2 separate regions of the Homo sapiens genome follow, and region 1 is linked to region 2. The links are contacts of gene promoters, found by promoter capture Hi-C in human tissues and cell types (Jung and others, 2019). All regions are on one chromosome and are shown on one strand. The core of a region is centred on a gene start or on the middle of the fragment in contact, and the rest is flanking DNA. Distances in the headings are between cores, read along the strand shown.

Region 1 (6,636 bases), core at 1,448-3,947, 80 kb before region 2:
GAAGTTTCCGTGAATTTCTCACATGTGCTCCAGAATTCACAAACCACGAGGTCAGTTCTGGGCGTGGGCTACTTCTCTGGAGAGAGATAGGTTACATTTCACCTGGTGATATGGGAGCATGAAGGAAGGGCCCTGTCATCTGTATGTGCCACCATCCACCCCCAGGAGAGGAACAGAGTTGCCTCCCAAGCCCAGCTGCAGCCCCCACCTGCCCTTGGGCCACCCCATCTCTTCGTTACATTGTGGATTTATTCCTGCCTTTAGCTCCAGATGGACCCAAGCAGACTTCCCAAACAGGCTGGGTCTTTACAACAAACCCCATCTTAAGAGAGAGTTCTGAATAATGAAAATCTTCCTACCAGGTGGCAAGCAGATTTGGGATGCAATGCAATGCCAGTCCCAGAAAAGGACTCTCATACTTCTTGCAACTAGTTGTAATGGGATTGGATCTGTCGACAAATATGCAAATGTTTTGGCAGAGCCCCTGTTGTCCCTCGAGCAGTTGGACCATGTTCTTGCCTCCTCAGGGCCATCTGCTTGGCTTCCAGTCAGCTGTATACCCCACCCCCTTTTAGTACTGTCACAATTTGAACCCAGTTGCTGGAAGGGACCAGAGGTAGAGAGGGAAAAGCTCCTTCAGGACGCTGGCGTGATGATGTGTCCTCTTCTGAAATGTCTTTCTCATTAAGGAGTAAATGCCCACGAGTTTGAATTACCTAACATTGGAACTGAAGCCACTGATCTTGCTCCATAAGGAATGTCTTCAATCCTGCATAGTCTAGAGAGCTTCGAACCTCCAGAACGTTCAGGAGGACTTTCCTAGTCTGAAATGTAGAACTCACAGCTTGCACTTTCTCCTGTCCCAAGCTCCAATTCTAAATTCTAAAGCCTGAACCTCAGGGATGTTCTCCCCACCTCACTGAACCTCTCCCGGCATCCTCACAAGGAGGGCTTTCTGCCAACAGAGACATCTCCAAGATCATAGTGGTGCCCACCTGGGCAGACTCCAGTGACACATGTTGCTGGGTGTGGCCAGGGCCCCTTGGCCCAACTCTTTTGGTCAATGACCTCCTCCCATTTACCACCAACCTCCTGCAGCTTAGCTTCTGCCCAGGCAGCACTTTGCTCTTCCCCGGAGCTCACTAACACTCCTTTCTCTTTAGCTGCTCCAAGAGCTAGCCTGACCCAGAGTCCTGGGAACTGAGGATTTTGATAAGAAGGAGTTGTTCAAAAGATGGCTACAGGACACCACTAATCCTTCTCTCATTTGTTTGAAAATATAGCAGGACCAATTAATTAAAGTTCAAACCTAATTTCTTTAATTTTAAAAAAACCATTACTGTATTATTGCCTTCTTTTGCAGGATTTAACCTTTTTTTCTCCTTTTGTGGGCTGTTTTGTGTTGCTTGTTCTTCACTGAGCGTATTGCCTTTCCAAATATGCCGTGTCTTTCCTTTGCAAAAGACCACTGCTGCCCTCCTCAGTTGTTTTTCTGGCTTTGCATTTGTTTTCTCTCCCCGTTTATGCCTCTGTGACTTCTCCGTGGCCTCCTGTTTGCTCACCCTCTTTTGTTTGTTACAGACCACCCTTATAATGACTCGTCCTTAAGAAACCACCCTGACATGTACAGTGGTGAGTCGCAGCGGTAACCTTGGGAGTAACCTTGCCTGTGCTAACCCCAGTTTGCCTAACTTGACTGATACCACGTCATTAACTCCTGCTGGGTGGCAGCTGGCCCAGCCAGGGTGCCAAGGTGACACCTCCAGAAGGCTGCCTGCCAGGAGGCAGTGTGGGGGTTTGAGGTGGCTCACCTGGTGGTGTGGTCTCCTCTAACAGGCATGCCTCAAGTTGCTGAATTCTCAACAAGTTGTTCAAACCAGGGTAGGACTTCAAAAGAACTTCTTGAAAAGCAGGAACTTTTACTGAAAAAGTAGAAGCTTAGGAATCAAGAATGGATGAAGGGAGACTATCTTAAAATAGGTGAGTTCCATAGTGAAGAGAAAACAGGAAGTCTGGTTCCTATTGGTAGTTGAAAGAACACAGAAAGCTTGTTAGTATGTTCAGTTAACTCTAGATAGGAATTGCCTGCTTTGTAATCTCACCTTAGTTACCGGGAGTACCATTTCACAGTGAGGTCCCGTGTCTCTTTAAAATCCATCTGGGCAATAGGAGTAAGAGTCCAGCTCTGAGTTCTCTTTCAAGATGAGTATAAATGAGGTGAAACCATCCACCGTACCCTCTCACCTAGGCCTCTCTCCTCCTTTGGTAGTATATGCAAATCAAATGCCCACCAGTCCACACTTGCGAGACATGGAACAATTACAATGAGGCATGGTTTTAACTCATGACACAGCTGGTTGCTCAGTCTGATTAATAGGGTAATTGGCTATTTCCACACCTGAGTTACCCCTCACCATGGCTCAAGAATGTCTTATTTTCCCTGAGCAGCCAGAGGCACCATCATTTGCTGGCTCTGGTGAGGCAGCTGGCCCCCATCATTAGTTATGCCTCAGAAGCTGAGGCTGCAGGTCCTCAAGGGACCTCACTGTGGGCTGAAACAGATAGGAAGTGTCTGCACTGTGATGTGCTAATACAAAGGATGATGAGTGACTGGAGAAGGGGATGGGATGAGGGAGCGCGAGCCAGGGAGAGAGGCAAAGGCTCTAACTTGGCACCAAGCAGCTAGAACCACACTGAGATCCTGCCAAAGAGATTCACTACCCAAGGAATCAGGGGACCTTTGTTGGATTCTAAGCATTGTTTGTTTTCAAGATAATGGGGCCAACTACTATTGTGTTAAGAGCCCCAGAGCCCTGGTATGGAATGGGCCTTGTTCTAAATCGGATTCCAGGTAATCTGTTATAGGAAGTATTCTGTAAGCCTGAGTGCATCAGAGCCAGAAGTTCCCTTAGAGACCATCTGGTCTAAGTTCCTCACTTTATGTAAGATAAGCCATACAGGGGAACGTACACATAGAGTTGTTTTATCAATGGAATAAGTTTGAGTGATTCCAGTCACTTAAACCAGTTTGTGACCATTGATCAAACTATTATTGCAAGAGAATGAGTGGGACTTATGAGATCCATCCAGGACTATGAAACAAGCAAAGCTTACAAGAGTTTACCTGGAGATTGACCCCTTGTCCTCAATCCAGGGTAGGACGGAGCTGACCCAAGTATGAAGCTGCTGGAAAGGATATAAAGTCAAAGGGAGACACATTTTGAACAAAAGACAACTAGGCTGATGCTTCTAGCAAGAAATCAAAGGGAAATGGAAGGAAGGAGGATGACTTCTTTCTGGAGTGCAGGCATCTGGACAGAGAGACTTGATGAAAAGTGCCCAGGGCATCTGTCTGTTTGGCTCTGAAATATGGCACGTCTCTTTTGTAGCAGGAGGGCCACCCCATACTTCTATTTTGTTTTAGTGATTTCTAGAGTGGATTGGTATCCTCTGAACACTGCTAGGTGCCCCCTGACCTGCTGAGTGGCAGGAGAATCTGGTCTGAGATTGTAACTTGCCGCTTAGGATTCAGCCAGGTGAGGAGACCAAGTGGTTAAGAGTGTGTGCTCTGAGGTAGACTGCCTTGAATTAAATCCAGGGTCCGGGACATACCATTGAGTGATGCTGAGTAAGTCATTTAGTGTCTCAGAACTTTAATGTTCTCATTTGCCAAATGGATGTATTACCTGTCTCATAGGATTGTTGTGAAGATTAAACAGGAGAATGTGCTTATGGTTCCTAGTATGTGTTGGGCACATTCTCGATACTTAACAAGTGTTACCCATTACTGGTTTTAAAGGGAATGGTTTAGTGTTGACTGTATCCTGGATAGTTCTTCTATGCTTCTGAAATTAAGAAGGACAGACAGAACTTAAAGAGAAGCCAAGGGGCAAAAAGCAGGTGCAATTATAGGAAGAAAGTACCATAGAGGGAGAAATTGTAGGGCAGACCAGAGAAACAAAAGCTGTTCAAATCCTCAGCTGTGCTGAGAACTGCATAAGAAGAAAAGCTCCAACTACTGCATATGAGGTTTGGGTTAAACTTACAGGAGAAATTTCCTGGTACTGAAAGGTATCAAATATTACTAGACAAAGAGTTTTTCCTATCTTCTGGGGTTGTTTGGTCAGCCATTCCTAGAGCAAGAGAGGTGAATGAGATGCCAAGAATCTGGCCCCATGAGTCTCTGGTTCTCAGTTCTGAGAATCGAAAGCAGCAAAGTGGTCTGGATGAGGGATACAGATGCCCCTAAAAGCTGTTTTTGGTAGAGGTCCTCAGATACGTCTGATTCATTGAACTTTCTTGTCCTGCTAACACATAGCACTTGACAGAGGGGGGCAACTAAGGTTGTCAGGAGTCTTGATGTTTCCTCAAAAGAGATGATCAAGAGGCATTTATCGTTGGACCTTTAAGGCCAACATGGTTGAGGCATTGTCATCTCCTGTTGTCTGCTAGCTGACCATATTTCCCCAGAAACCCATGGACCCACTCTGAGCCACAGCTTACGAGAGCAGGAGAGGACTGACTGTCCCTGGGCAAGAAGTCAAATGAGCTGGCGAGGGAAGCTCTTCCTGAATCCACACAGATATGAGCTTTAGCGTATGGACTCTGAGTTTGATCAGGCATTAGGTCAGACCCCACTCTGAAGATCAGGGCGAATAACCAATACTCTCCAGGGATCCCTGCCTCCATGATGAAAGAGGGTGTCCCATGATAAGATGAGACAGTCATCTGCCACCATTTAGAGTTTCATCTAGTAATCACTGTTGTCTTAGAGTCTTCCTGTCTCTACTTCTCCAGGGAAGGAAATTAGGCACCCTCTTTGAGAACAGTGGCTCTCAAAGCCACCAGCTCTAGTATCCTTCCTAGATTTTCATATGAGTTCCTCCTGCTGCAATTGACTGCATTTCTTCATAACCTTTCCTTTAGGGCCAGCCATCTCATTCCTTAATGATATTATGTCCCCCAAATCTTCTTCAAGTTTTCCATGCCTTTAAGAATCCAACTGAGGTGCCTTTAGAGCTGCTGAATTCCCTCCTCAGCTTCTTTTTCTCCACCTTGGGCCCGAGTTTTTTTTAATAGCCACTGAGGAGAGGTGGGATCTTAGCTGAGACAGTGAGAATAGTAAAACATAGTGGAAGAGTTTCACCAGAGCAGCTCACTAAGACAGAAATATCTTTCTCCTTTACCTCTTTTGCCCTTGCATTTTCTTTGGTTTGAATAAGAAAGATATTCCTGAAGCTGACTGTCAGAAGTAGGAACAAGTGGGATGCCCATCTTTAGACAGAGAGGCAATGTAGAGTGGGTGGAAAGCACACGTTTTTGGTGCTAAATGGCACAGAATCCAAAACATAACTAGCTTGGAACCTTGGGCAAGTCTGTTGACTTCACTGAGCCTCAGTTGCCTCTGCTGAAAATGGGGATACAACCCTCCAGGTTTGCTGTGAGGATTAAGCATAAATGGTGGTGTGGATGGAGCTGTCAGCACAGTGCATGGTCCCTAGCAAACGTTCACTGAATGGTGGCCCTGATTATGACCTCCAACTTTTAGGATGCTCTTCTCTTTTTTTGAACTTTGGCTTGTTTCCAGTAGCTTCTCCTTCTTTAGGATAATTCTATTGTTGCTAGCCCACATCCTACAAATGCAATATTGCTGTAACCTCTTTATAGTCACAGCTACAGTGTGTCAAGGCACCCACAGCAGAACTCTGTGCTAAATTTTCCTCCTTCCCATCATTATTGCTTTGCTGGGTTGTGCGTGCTGGTGGTGTCGCGCGTTATGGTGTAAATTAAACGTCCATAGGGTCACAGATTGGTTTCTGCAGATTTCCTCCCAGTGTGGAAGGAGTATGACGACTTAGCTGGGACCTACCTCTTCCACAGAATCCCAGGGTTCCCAGCTCTTGACGGATTCACCAACCTGACAACAGAGCCTTCTGCCCTAGAATCTCCTTTCCTCATAGTGCCCATGTGTCTTGGTTGTTTTGGTGATTCCGTGATGGTGGGTGGGAGGAAGCTGTTGGTGTCAGGCTTCCTTGGTGCTGAGAATTGGATGCTACAAGAGTTATAGACATAGATGATAACCAATTAACCACATAATGGATTAACCCCTTCAGTAGTCACTGTTGTAATGTGTGTGCTGGTGGGACAGATGAGGCATCTACAGAAAGAGAAATAATATGGGTTAAACTGCTGCCTTATTTTTTGTTCTCTTCTTCCCCTCCAATCCATTCACCTTATAAACCTTCATTGAGCATTTGCTGTATGCCGTGTATTGTATCATCAGCCTCGTTACCCTCTGCATATGTTTCATCCTTTCTTCTTTTGACAAAAAGATAAAATAGAAGCAAACTCTATGAATTGCACTCCACCAGTGCCGAGGGAGAGAGTTGAGTGCCCCAGAACAGGAGCCCCGCCGGTGCAGCCAGGCCCCAGCAAACCCAGCAAGCTCCTTTAGGAAGCACCAGTTACATCTGGATAAAGTTCCCCCGCACTCTCTCCTCACGCTACCAGCACCGATTAAACCCTGGATAAGTGTCTTCATCCTCACCCCAGGTGTCTCTGAGGCCTCCCAGCTCCTGGCAGCTCTGCCTCCCCTCCACCTTTCCCTTGTCCTGCTGAGTCTAAGACCCCATTAAA
Region 2 (7,035 bases), core at 2,462-4,961:
AGTGACAGAGCTGGGACAGAGTCCAGTTCTCTTGACTACAAATCCAGAGCCACCCCAACCACTTGCAGCCCTTACTGCTCTGCCTCATATCCTTGTTTTACAGATGAGGGAGGCTAAATCCCAAAAGGGAAATACTGACATTTATTGAGCACCTGCTGTGCTAGCTACTTCACGTGTAACTCAACACTCACATCAACTCAGTGAGGTATGTGTCTTCATCCCCATATTCTGGGTGAAGAGGTATGTGGCTTGCCCATGGCCTCACATCTCCTCAGTAGCAGGACTGGGTGTCAAACGGGTCTGTCTGCAGAGCTTTTCCTTATGGCCATATCAGTTTTCCCCAGAGCTGTGGATGGACAGTCCTGTTACCACTGTCACACTGCTTCCAAAAAGGTCACTGGCACTTTGAAGACCGCATCCCCTGGCTCTTGGATCCCTACATTCCAGGCAGAGGAGCTGCTCCATAAATACATGGCCTCCTGGGAAAAGGGTCTGGGCAAAGATGCTGGTGGCGGGAGAGGCCAGGAAAGGAGAGGTGAGGCGGGGGAGTGGTGAGGAAAGAGACAGCAAAGCTGCAGCATCCTGGGGCCATGGCAGGGTCTCATCTCCTCCCCACTTGTCCCCAGGGATGGGGCCTAGAGGTCCCTTCTTGATCGGTTAGAGACCCACTGGATTCCATTGCTATCAATCTTGTGTGGCTACAGTAGGAAGAAGCAGATGGTCTGGGCAGGGTTGGGTGGCCCTCAAAATGCTTTCTGATCCCCACCCACCACCACCAAGGGAGCACCACATGTTTGCGGACAAATTTATAAGCCATTTGACTAGCCACCTGATTATCTTCACTGGCCCTTTCTTGCCCTGTTTGAAAGTCTGTGGGGACTCAACTTTGAGATGTGGAGTCCCAGCTCTGGACAACATGGAGTCATATTGATCAGCCACAGAAAGGAGAGGTGGCCCTTATGGTCAGCTGCACTGAAGATTGTGGGCTCTGGATGTCACCAAAGAAGAAGAAACTGTTCTGCCCCCTATTTTGCCCACCTCAAAAGAACAGACAGTAGGTAGCTGGAGTCCATGGCACGGTGGCTAAGCCAGGATGCTGGAGGCCGATCCCAGGCCTCACTCTGTCATCTAGGCTGGAGTGCAGTGGCACGATCACAGCTCACTGCAGGCTTAACCTCCCAGGCTCAGGTGATCTTTCTACCTCAGCCTCCTAGGTAGCTGGGACTACAGGTGTGCACTGCCACACTGGCTAATTTTTGTGTGTTTTTTGTTGAGACGGGGTTTCGCCACGTTGCCCAGGGTTCCACTTGTTTACTATTTCTTTTGAGCAAGTTCCTTACTCTTACTGAGCAACATCTGAAAAGTGAGGATAATAACAACATGGACCTCTTGCGCAAGTAATTCAGGTAAAGCATTTAGCACAGCTCCCGGCATGTGGGAGGCATTCAAAACAGATATTATTTCTGTTATTATCAAGCTAATGGGCCCCACAAGCAAAACTCAGCCTGCACCCCCAAATGCCCACCCCACTCTCTCCTCAGGAACAGGAGCATCTCAGAGACTGGGAGTGCAGATCCCCCTAATCTCCCCAAACTCATTCATACTAGACTTCACTGAGAGCTTCAGACAAGTGAGAAGATGAGACTTTGGGAACTGTCTCCCCATCCAAGTCTAGGCTTGGCAAATGTTCTTGTTTTCACTTATTGTGTCTGCCAGAGTCCACATGGAGCATGCTGGTTGCATTGAGATCTGAGAGTCTTTAAGACCCAAGTCACCTGTGCTAACGACCCTCCCCAGAGACCCAGCTCCCACCACAGGGCAGCAGCTGTCCTAAAATAGAGTCACAAAGACAGCTGTCTCCGTCTAAAGCAATCCTTGCAAGCATTTCCAGACTGTTGGTTCCTGGGCCAGCCTATTTCCTGGCCCGTCAGCCCCCTGCAGCAGACATAGCATCCTTTTCTTGGCAAGGACTTGTTCCTGCCGTTTTCTGCTAGGAGAGAACTTGCAGAGCCTCTCTTTGGAGCCCAGGCTGACTTGAATGGTGCCAAAGAGCAAGGTTCACCTCAGGAGCTCAGAGCCAATGTGCCAGCCCTCAGACATACAGATAGGCAAGGACAGTGTGGGCAGGGGAAGGAAGGGAAAGATATCCTGGCAAGGGGTTGATGTGTCTGTCTATATAACAGCATTCAACATTATTTAAGAAACATCATTAGCAAAATCCAAGTCCTCCCCATCAGGAACAAAGAAGACTATCTCTCAAGTTGGGCAAGCCCTTTGGAGGGGCTCAGAAGGAAAGGAGGGGAGCGCATGTGGGACCTGGGCAGACATTCCAGCCTTGGAGGCTGAGCAGCAGAACCTCCCCGACTCCTTCTCCTTTTCCAGACCCTCTCATTCTGGCCCAGGTCCCCAGGACCTCCTCCACTCAGGGAGACATGGAGCCATGATCCAGGCTTGACAGGTATAGCCATTTAAAACTGGGAGGCTGGCCTGGCCCTGCCAGCTGTTGCAGCATCTGGACTGCTCACCGGTCTTGCCTGTGCAAGCTGGACAGCAGGCAGATCAGAGGGGGGTGAGACAACAGTGACAGCCTGACAGGGCCGACTGGTGCCGCAGATGGCTGGTCCCTCCGCCTCCGGGCCACAGCCTTCCTGGGCACTCCCCCACGTGACCGGAGCAGGGCAGGAGAAAGGCATCGCTGACAAGGGTGAGCACTTAGAATCTCAGAGCTGGCAGGACTGTGTCCATCTTTAATCCCTTCAGGTACCAGCGAGGCTCAGAGAGGGCAGGGCACCTAGCCAAGCACACACAGCCAGTCGGTTGTGGAGCCCAGAGTATGCTTCAGACACCCAGACCCCTAATCCAGGGAGCTTTTCATGACATCACACTGCTGGTTGCTTAAAAATGGGATTGGATCCAAACGTACTGATGCGTAAAAGTGTCCAAGATCAGTTACACAGTTAAAAGTCTTTGGCCAATCCTACTGTTTTATGTAATCACATTTGTGTGAAATAACCCTACTAACCCATGTAATTGTATACACGAAAATAATAAACCTGGGGGCATGTACTTAGATTTATTAAGAGTAGTGGTTGAGGGACTTTCACTATGTATTTTTAAATGTCCTCTAATATTTAGATATTTTGACAAAAAGCTCAAACTACTTTTGAACAAGGGAAACAATAAAGAGGAACATGGGGTGGACCGGGCAACAGAGACAGCCCCTCCCTGCCACTTGCCCCACACAGCAAGCTGGGATTTCTGATTTGGATCTCTTCCTCGGATAGGGGATTTCTGGGGAAACCAGGAGTTTTGGCTCCATGGGTCTCCAGGGTTTGAGGAGTAAGAGCCACTTTCTTTTCCCTCTTCACCCCGCCCCTCTCCTGCCCCTTCAGCCCTGGGCAGGGGGACTAGAAGTGGGGCTGGGCAGGATCGGGAGGGCAGGCGGGCCAGACAGCGCCCCGCGGCCTGTCCATGAGCGGCCCATGCATTATGGAAGACGCGCGCTGGGCTCGCTCCCTGGTCCTTAAATGACAGCAAATGAGGTAAAGCCAGGAGGGTGGGGACGGAAGTGGGGTGGGAGGGGGGCAGAAGGAAGCCATCTCCAGGGCCCCCGAGCGTTGGCTGAGGACCAGAGCCAGCCAGTGAGCGGAGCCTGGGAGAGGGAGGAGCACATCTTGATGCAGAGATGCTGCAGTGGCTCCGGGCGCGCTCACACACACGCGCCCTCACCCGCCACCGCCGCCGCGGCCGCCGCCGCACCCGGACAGCGAGCGGCTGAGGCCGCCAGGGCCCAAAGGACAGCGGCCCAGACAGGGGCTGGCGGCCCGGCCGGCCCCGGCTCACCGACTCGGGCAGCATCCACCTGCCCCAGCCAACACCCTTCTCTCGCCCCAGGTAGGTGCCAACCGCTTTTGTCTCCTCCAACCCAGGGACTTCCCTGCGTGCTGTTATGGGCCGGGGCTCCCGGCTCAGTTCCTGTAAATATCCCCCTTGTAACTTGGGAGGGAACAGGGACAGGAACACTGGCAGGCTGGGGCCGTTCTGACTTCTCCCCTCAGCCCCAGGGTGGGTGCTGGGGCTCCCCTCCGCCCTGTCTACGTGGGCGGCATCCCGCAGGGCTCTCTCAGGCCGAGCCTGGCCGAAAAGCTGGACCCCAGGAGTGTGTCCAGGAATTCCAGTTGGCCAGCGGGCAGTGGCAGCTGCCTGTGGAGAGGGCAGTTTCTCCTGGGCCGGCCCTGGGCACCCGGTCCAGGACAGGACCAGTCCATACAGCCAGGCCCTGGGCCCTGGCCTGCCCCAGAAGTCCCTGCATGGAATTGAGCCGGAGTCCCCAGTTTTGAGGTCACCCAGGGTCTACCTCTGCAGGGTGACCTCTTTGCAAAGTCTTGCTTCAGCTGGATGGAGAGGGGGGCTGTGGAAGAGAGAGGGGAGAGTGGAGCACAAGTTTGGGCAAGGGCCTGTCCAGGAACTGGGACTCGGGGAGGAGAGTCCTGAGGCCAGTCACATCCCAAAGGGCGAGAGGCTGGGGCTACCGGGCTGAAATTCCTTTCCTTCCCTTCCCCCTCCCAACCTTAGCTTCTCCTCAAATCCCTCCCCCCCATCCTCACTGGTGGGAGGGAAGAATTTGCACAAAGTTTGGCTTTCCAGTAAGGAAAGGGGCTGGGGCCAGAATGGTATGGGGAAGGGAAGGGGCAGAGCTGGGGAGTTCTGGAAAGAGAGGGCAATCCTTCTGCCCAGCACCGTGGGGCTTACATAATGGGCTGGAGGTGGGGGGCAGCCCCAGCCAGTGAGTGTCCAGAGCTGAATCCTGTCACCTTCTCCAAGAGGGTCTCTCAGGTCTGGGAAGCAGCGGGGCATGGAGAAGGCAGTGCCTATGGAAGGGGAGAATCCTGCTGCTACTTGGGGATGGAGACGGGCACCCTCTAGCCCCAGACCCCTGGGGGTTGAGCCTGTGTCCTGGGGGGGGGGGTCCAGTGAGGCCAGGAGGGAGTGGGGTTGTGCATGCCATGGCCCCAGCCCTGGAGAAAGGTGGGTTTCAGCATCTTTTCCCTCTGCTCAGAAGGAGCTGGGAGGAGGAACAGCCCAAGAAACCCAGTGCACAGGTGATGTTCTGGTCTCGTCTGGGCAACAGTTTCGGCCTCCTCTCCCAACCGTCTGGCCAAAGACGCCTCAGCTCACTTAGCCTCCGAGTCTCTCTACCTCCTGGTCCCACTCAGAGGGGCCGGATGAGCCACTGGAGATCGAGTGCAGCAAAAGGTGGGCCACCTGTGGGAGAGGCTGCTGTGATCGCACCTGGACAGGGAGATGGCCTGGAGGTCACAACAGGTGCCCTCACTCCTGGCCTTGGGAGAAGGGAGCTCTCCCCTTAAAGACAGCAGCATCCAAGCCCCTCCCCAGGGTGCCCACCAGTTAACCCCTTTCTAGCCAAGCTGCAGAACCATGGACAGGGCTTTTGCCACAAGGTCAGAGTCCTTCCTAATCTCCCGTGGAAGTCCTCAGCGAATAAGAGGGAGGCAGGAGGTGAGACAGACAGGAAAGGGCCCCTGACCTGATGATGTCAAAGTCACCCAAGGTCCACCTGCCTCACAGGTGCAGAGACCACTGTGCTCACACCATGAGCGGTGAGGGAAGCAGAGGCACACTCCTTATGCAGATGAGTGCCTCAGACTCCAGGAGTCTGCTCTCATTCCCGGCTCTTTCTCTCTTACTCTCCTCCCTTCCTCTACTCCTTCTTTCCTCGCACTCCCTTCTCTCATCGCGTGTACTCCACCGGCTTCAGCCCTCAGCCTCCCGCCGCCACCATTTCCCCTGCCAGATTTCACTCCTTATGCAACTCCATTCCAGCACCTTCTCTGCCAGCAGTTGTTCAAATAGAGACACATGTGGGATGGGCCTCCGAGGAATTGTGCTTAACGGGGTGATTGCACATCTCGTCTCTGGCTGACCAAACTTACTCCTTAGGAGCATGTACATAGACAGGTGTACCCCAAGGCATCCTTTCTGCCTCTAAAGTCACCAGGGAAGCAACGCATTTGGGGTGGTTTGGAGGATGCATGGTGCCCTCTTCAGAAACCTCCTTGAGCCAAACGTTGGTGAGAAAGCGTATTTCAAAGACAATCTCTAAGCCTGAGTGTGGGTGGTATTTGTATTTTTGGAGGGATTCCTAGGGCAGAACCAGGGGGTTGGAGAAGAGGTGATTGATATGCAGGGGAGGAAGAACCAGAGCAAAGAATATGCCAGGGAAGCCAGAGGGACTTAAGTTAGACTGCAGGAGACACTTCCTGGCTAGAAGAGTGAGCCATGAGGAGGTGGGGCAGTCTCCTTTCAGATGACTCTAAGGATGGTGTGGAGAACTGGGGTCTGGTCCAAGGTTAGAGAGTCCTGCCTAGAGGCAAAGGTTGGGCTGGCTGACCCTGTAAATTTCTTCCAACTTCTAGTAATCCTCTTTCAAATGGTAAAAGGTGGATGTGACTCAGGAATCCATAAGAAGGCAGACATCCTTTTCATCCCCTCATGCATGCTGGCCACCCCCTCATCCTTCAGGACTACAACCCCAATCTAAACAAACCACCCAGAGGCTGTTGCTAACCTGGAACATTTATGGGAGTTTCTGTGGGCTCCGTATCCTGACGGTAACCATCCTAGAGTAAGTCCTTTCTTAGTTTGATGATTCCTTGCTACAAGATTAGCCCATGTTTCTTTGTTTACCAAAGAGAATGCAAACAAAAGCAAGGAGTGTGATATTCTCATCCAAAACCTGAACACCTCCCATCCCAGGACACACTCAGGCCCAAACGCATCTCAGTGTCCTTTTTACCTAATGAGACATTCAGTTCACTACGTAGGTGGGGAAGTCAACCCCAGCCCCTCACACACACCCATCTAGTCAAACCTGCTGGGCTTCCTCCAGCCTAAGCCCACATCTTCTCAGTGCCTGCCACCCTGAACACCCTGACCAAGGGGTTCTCCCACCCTGTGCCTGGCTGGAGGGCAGCCTTCCTGCAGTGCTGCCCAAGAGGTGAAGTTAATCTGGAC

What was found. Contacts are between HindIII fragments. The study calls those that stand out against the background at their distance.
Region 1: a fragment that was not itself captured here is called in contact with the fragment with the promoter of CNTN2 in region 2 in 2 of the 25 tissues and cell types used here (bladder and spleen).

Annotation. Positions count from the first base shown.
Region 1 is chr1:204,960,527-204,967,162 of GRCh38, forward strand. The region is part of intron 8 of NFASC (neurofascin); the gene reads left to right. Among named protein-coding and RNA genes, the nearest start is that of CNTN2, 79 kb to the right of the region's middle. The HindIII fragment of the contact is 5,464 bases long and covers 1-5,429 here.
Region 2 is chr1:205,039,501-205,046,535 of GRCh38, forward strand. It overlaps CNTN2 (contactin 2), which reads left to right and starts at 3,712. Exons shown (of 23, transcript NM_005076.5): 1 at 3,712-3,894. RefSeq lists enhancers at 3,406-3,550, 3,498-3,642 and cis regulatory regions at 3,478, 3,570. The HindIII fragment of the contact is 16,049 bases long and covers 1-7,035 here.